Regions from separate parts of the Homo sapiens genome. Here region 1 is linked to region 2. The links are contacts of gene promoters, found by promoter capture Hi-C in blood cells and fetal thymus (Javierre and others, 2016). All regions are on one chromosome and are shown on one strand. The core of a region is centred on a gene start or on the middle of the fragment in contact, and the rest is flanking DNA. Distances in the headings are between cores, read along the strand shown.

Region 1 (2,885 bases), core at 227-2,726, 150 kb after region 2:
CCCCTCTGCCCACAAGTCTTTGCCCTGTACAGCCTCTCTCTGGGCTTTGCAGGGAGGCTGAGCTCAGCAGGCGCCCACCTAGGCAGGAGGCCGAGAAGATAAGGCCAGCCAAGACCTGGCTGCTGATACCTGGCGTGAAATTGAAAAGCACCAGACTCCTGCCTCCACAGCCTGGTGCCCTGAGGGAGAGAAGGCTGGGAATGGTGAATGAAACTGACCCGCCCAGCCAGCAGGGCCAGGCTCCAGGCTGCCACACTTCAGCTCTCCCCACCCCTTCCCCTGGGGGAGGCACAGGCTGAGCGGGTTCTTCGAGGCTCTGAACAGCAAGCCCCTTTCCAGGGTGGCAGCGTGCAGGGGGCTTCTGTGAGCCTAGGGGCTTTAGTGGGCCCCTGGTTTTGAAGTGGGGGACAACCACCAAAAAGGGGAATTGGATGGGAGTGCCCTTGCCTTGTGGAATTAGGCCTGTCCAGAGGCCAGCGTTGCAGTGCTCTAAGGTCATTGTAATGCAAGGCTAGCAAGTCCAGAACTTCTCAGAACAGCCCGAATGCACAGACTTATGAGACGCTGTTCCTCCAGGGCCCCATTCAGCAGGTGTGGACACCAAGGCCCGGAGAGCTGAGCACCCGGCCCCACCCAGGAGTACAGGGAGTTGGGTGGGGACCCAAGTGTCTGATTTCTGGAGCAGGGCTTTCACTTCTGCAGCCCAGTATGGTCCAGAACTTGTCACCCTCATCCTCAGGCCTGTTGTCCCCGAGGACCTCCATTATCCAGAGAGCACTGGAAGAAACCTTGCTGTAGTAGACCTGAGGATGGGGACAGCTCCCCTCTCTCCTTACCCTCACTGTCAAAGCACCCACAGATCAGATGTCTGATGGTAATGACCTCTCCAGGGTCTGGCCCACAGCATGTTTATTAGGGTCCATATGCAGCCGATGCTGTCCATGCCGGGTGAATACATGCCAAGTGATTTCCTGTTCACCCAGTTCCGCATAGATGATTCTGGTTATAACAGTGCAAGCTAAGAGGGAGGAAGTCAACCATTTTTTTTCCATCAGCAATCTGAATTTTACAAGTCCTCATGCTTCTCCTAGCCACTCTAGCAAGGGAAAAGGTTCTTTCCATTTGACAGATGGGAAACTGAGGCCCAGATGGGCACTGTGATTACCTTCAGGCTCTATAGAGTTCAGGGGCCAGGGTGGAGCTGAACCTCCCAGCACCCTCTTACCAGCCACCCCACCCCATGTGGGGATGTGGAGGATCCCAGGGCTGCTGGGACCTGTTGCTTCACAGTGACTTGGTTCTCCCAAAGCTGCTAAGTACTGTAGAGCAGAATGAAGTGCAGCAGACGGATCCTTGGGCCTCTTAGAGAGTGCCCCAATTTGTAAAACAAAGCTTGAGAAGGAGAAAAAAAAAAGATGGAAAAAAGCAAATTGGAAGCAAGAGCAGGCTGTATTTTCCATCCCTTCAACCATCAGCTGCTTTAAAGGGCCAGCCTCGTCCTCGTGGGGCAGGATAGGATAAGGAGGCAGGCCTGAGCTTTTAATCAGAGTTATGTTAGATAAAGCTTTTATTATTCACCTGGCTTTATTATAGCTCTTTCCTGAGGTTAGAAGCTAATTTTCCTGGTTTTTACCGAACTCTGGTCTGCTTGGCTGCCACAGATGCAGGAGAGGTGGACGGGAGTAGCGGAAAAAAGGGAGATGGGGGTAGAAATCAAATCAAATAAACTCTCCTCATCCAGTGGACCGAGAGAGTGGGCGGAAAACAACTCTAATAACAGGGGAAGTTTCCAGAGGTGGAAGCAGGCTGGTGAAATCAGGCCTAATCAGCTCTAGCAGAAGGGGTTCCAATCACCCCCAGCCTCACCAGGGGGAGGGCAGAGTGGACGAAGCTGGCGATGGGAGTAGGCTGGGGGCTGGACAGTGGCAGGCAAGGCAATCAGAGCCCTGCCAGCAGAGCCTGCCCCACGCCCGCTCCCACCCTCTGCCTTGTGTTCCAGCCACAGGAGTGGGAATGCTGGCAGAGGGTTAACCGGTTAGTGACCGGGATGGAAAAGAGGAGGAGCATACCTACACCAGGCCCGGGGCCACAGGCACGTTGCCCTGGGACACGCTGCACACCCCAAATACCCCTCCCACAATCAGGCATGAAGTAGAAGCCACCAATGCCACAGACAAGACCCACGAGGCAAAGAACTTTGGCCACAGCTATCTGGGGGAAGAAGATAGTGCTCCGTTTTCTAACTCTCCCCACCTTCAAAGGGAGTCGGATCATTTTCAGTTGACTTCTCCGCCAGTCAGGAGCCCATCGAATGATGTTCCAATTTCTTGACAGTTAGAGAGTCATTTTATGGCTAGATTTAGAGGTTGGAGGTGGTCTGTGGCTGGGGTCTGGTGTCTGTGACTGGTGCAGTGTGTGCCCTGGGGTAACCCTGGGGACAGAGTCAGTCCCCGACCCCAACCCCTGGTGACAGTAGCAGGAGGGGAAAGCCACGTCCACCCTGTAAGTTACTGTCGAAGGAGGGATTCGCATCCACTAAACAGCCATTAGGCCAGAAGCACCAGATGCAATAGCTTGAAAGAGACAGCAGTGCTCACCCCAGCCTTTCCTGGGGGTTGATCATTTAATCTCTTTAGCTCCTGCTACAAGAGGGAAAGAAGACTGCAGAGAGGAGAGGTGATATTGAGACAGGCACCGTGCTCCCAGGCCACGGCAGGGGAGGGGGAGGACAGAGCAGCTGTCCCTGCCAGAGAGGTCAGTGGCCTTCGGAGAAACCCATTAGACCGTTCTCATCCACCGTGCGTTTCATTAAAAGTGAGACAGTTTGCACCTTCCACTTTCTCGGGCTGTCTTCAGGTTGTCGTCATCAATGAGCCTGCCCTGTG
Region 2 (3,010 bases), core at 101-2,600:
ATTGATGAATGTCTGGTTCCCCTACTAGAGAAGCTTCATGGGGCACAAAGACCAAGCCTGTTTTGTTCTCCATCCTATTCCTAGAAACTATTTCAGTTAGCTAGCACATAGCAGTGACTGTGAATGAATGAATGAATAATGAATGAGCGAATGGTAAGGAACTGGAGCTTTGGAACCAGATAGATTCTGGGTTCAATACCCGACTCCACCACAGGGGCAAGTCCCCAACCTCCTAAAGCCTGTTTCTCACTGTAAAACTGGGATAATGGCAGGGCCCACCAGAAAGACTTTATTGAAGATAGAATGAGTTGAGGCCCAGAAAGTCTCAGCCCAGAGCCTGGCTCCAGGCAGGTACTGTCAATGTACTGACTGGAACAGTGACAGCTCGGAAATCCTGTCATGTGAGAAATAGTTTTAAAAAATCAGAATGCTTAGCCCCGGGGAAGTAAAGATCAAAGGTAGGGGATAAACCTCTTCCATTACCTGCATATGGACCCTTTCTTGATCCAGCTGTCTCAGAAAGCCATAAAGTCTCTGTCCCTATAGGTGTGCAAAAAGGAGCCGGGAGACCATGACTCGGGCACTGCAGACGGAGCTCCCGCAGGGGTGAGGGCGCCTAAGTGACCTCACGGGTCTCCTCCAACCCGGGGTCCTCCATTTCTAAGCACTTGGAGGCCTCTTGAGCTCTAGTGAGGGAGGAGGCGCAGATGGGAGCGCACGAGTCGGGTGGGCAAAGGCAGCTGGTTGGAGAGAAGCGTAGGCCAAGAGGCCCCAAGGACTAGAGGGACTGCTCAGCGACTCTGGGAGCAGAGAGGGGGCGCTTAAAGCCAACAGATGGCGCGGGCTCACCTAGGCCGAGCGCCCGCTCGCCCGCCCGGGCTTCCCGGGAGCGTTACCTCGCTCTGCCTGAGGCGCGGGGCGGACGAGACGCTGGGGGCCCCATCCCCCTGCGCGCCCCTCTGCGGGACGGCTGGCGGCCTGGCGGGGCACTGCTCTGTCTCGCACCTGGGGCCTCTTCCGCGGGCTTCCTCCCTGCCCCTTTGGGGGATTCGTAGAGTTGCCACAGCAGCCGGTGCCATGACATCGGCAGAGGGCAGCTTCGCCAGCACTGAAATATTCATGCCCTGAGCGCCCGGCGGGGCTCGGCGCCGCTCCCGGGGGTCCGGGCGGGGCCGGGCGGGAGCTCGGGGGTCCTGGCGGCCTGAGGGGTGGGGGAGCGCCGAGCGCGGGCGGGCGGGCGGGGGCCGGGCGAGGCGGGAGGTGAGGGAGGGAGCTGCGGGAGGCGGGGTCTGGACGGCGGGGGCCGAGCGGGGCGGGGGCCGAGCGGGGCGGGGGAAGCAAGGGAAAGTTGATCGCGGACTTGAGCGGCGGCGGCGGCTCGGGAGAGAGGGACGCGGGCTGCAGGCGCGATGCTTGGCTAGAGGACGCGTCCGACGGCGGCCGGACGCTGAGGTGGTCGGGGCTAGTCAGCCCGGCCTGGGCATGGAGCGCGGGGTGGCAGAGCCTCTGGACGTTTGGGGCGCGCCCAGTCCGAGCCCCCGGCGCGCCTGAAGTTGCGAGCGGCGAGCGGCGAGCGGCGAGCGGCCCGCGGAGACCCAGGAGCTGCCGGCACGCCGCGGATGAGCCTTCGCGCCGGCGGGAAGACGCGGCGGTGGCCAGGGCCAGAGCAGGCGGCCCGCGGGGGCCGATCCGGCGGAGAGCAGAGCCCGAGGCGAGGCGAGGCGCGGCGCCGCTGCACACACGCACACGGTACCCGGAGCCACGCACCGCCTCTTCCCTCCTCGCTTCCCTCTCCTTCCCCTCGCCGTTCGCCCGCCGCGCGGCGGGGAAGTTGGTGGTGACCGCGGCTGCCGAACCACTTGTTCCCAGCGCGGCCATCGCCCGTGGCGGGCGCTCGCGGCATCCTTCGGTCCCAGGCCCCTGGCCCTAGCCTCGCGCCCCGCTCCGAGCTCCCCGACGCGCGGCAACTTTGATTCCTGGGAACTCGAATTCCATTCGCGTTGGCCTTGGGAGGACAGGCATCCCATCCCCCATCCCCGGTCCTGGGACCGCGAACATTTGGGGGCTTTGCTCTCGGCGCTACGGAGAGGGTCCAGGTCTGGGGTGGAGAGATTTTCGAGAGTGGAGCGCGTTGGGATCCAATCCCCTCCCCTTCTGAGCCCTGGGTCCCCATTTGGACAGTGGGGATGGGGTGGGGCGCACCCCTACTGCGGGCTGGGCAGAGGCGCTGAGGGGAACTAAAGGCACGTAGTTCTCCCCTCCCCTCATCAAGTCCCTGTGCCCGCGGGAGACCCCAGGGGACTTACACATCCTCCCAAATTCGGTCCAGCTATGGGAAGACGCGCCCCTCGAGGAGCCGGGAGCCTTTTGCGGCTCTCGCTTCGCCTTCCTGGCCCTGGAACTGGTCCGCTACGAGCGGTGCTGGCTGCCCCCAGGAGCTGGCACCCGGGAGCACTGCCCCTCATCTCCACCGTAGGTCAGCCCAGGACTCGAGCAGAGCCCGCGTGTTCCAAGGCAGTGACGGCGCCAGCCGGCGGGGACTCTGCCTGGCTTTCTCGGAGCGGGCACCTAGAGAGGCTGCCTCCGTGCTGTGAGCGGAGATCCGATGCCAGCCGCCGCCCCACTGCGACCCCAGCCCCAGCCCTAGTGCTGTCAGCGGTCCACTGGGAGGAAATTAGCCTTTCCTCGGTAGTAATACTCCCCCATCCTCCCTAGTAATTCAGAAAGCAGAGCCTTCTTTTTCTACGTCCTTTGCCCTCTCAGACCAGAGCTGGCATTGACATTGACCTCGCCTTCCAGCCCCTTGGGAAGTGCCCCAACCCTAATTTGGATTTTGAAATAAGCTAGAGAGACACAGGAGTGTGTGTGTGTGTGTGTGTGTGTGTGTGTGTGTGTGTGTGTGTGTGTTGGGTGGAGTCAGACCCTCACACAGGGAAGAATTAGGTTGTGGGGTGTGGGGTGGGGCGGGCTTTAAGAACCTAGTTGGGGCCAGTTGCATGGTGATGATGAG

Evidence for each region. Contacts are between HindIII fragments. The CHiCAGO score rates a contact against its expected background, and 5 or more counts as called.
Region 1: a contact is called between a fragment that was not itself captured here and the fragment with the promoter of CDH23 in region 2, in 2 of 17 cell types (megakaryocytes and M1 macrophages). The highest score is 6.5, in megakaryocytes.

What each region holds. Positions count from the first base shown.
Region 1 is chr10:71,542,547-71,545,431 of GRCh38, forward strand. The region is part of intron 6 of CDH23 (cadherin related 23); the gene reads left to right. Among named protein-coding and RNA genes, the nearest start is that of CDH23-AS1, 32 kb to the left of the region's middle. RefSeq lists enhancers at 1-213, 1,465-1,974. The HindIII fragment of the contact is 172 bases long and covers 1,391-1,562 here.
Region 2 is chr10:71,395,570-71,398,579 of GRCh38, forward strand. It overlaps CDH23 (cadherin related 23), which reads left to right and starts at 1,351. Exons shown (of 70, transcript NM_022124.6): 1 at 1,351-1,749. RefSeq lists a silencer at 870-959 and an enhancer at 1,643-2,154. The HindIII fragment of the contact is 8,970 bases long and covers 32-3,010 here.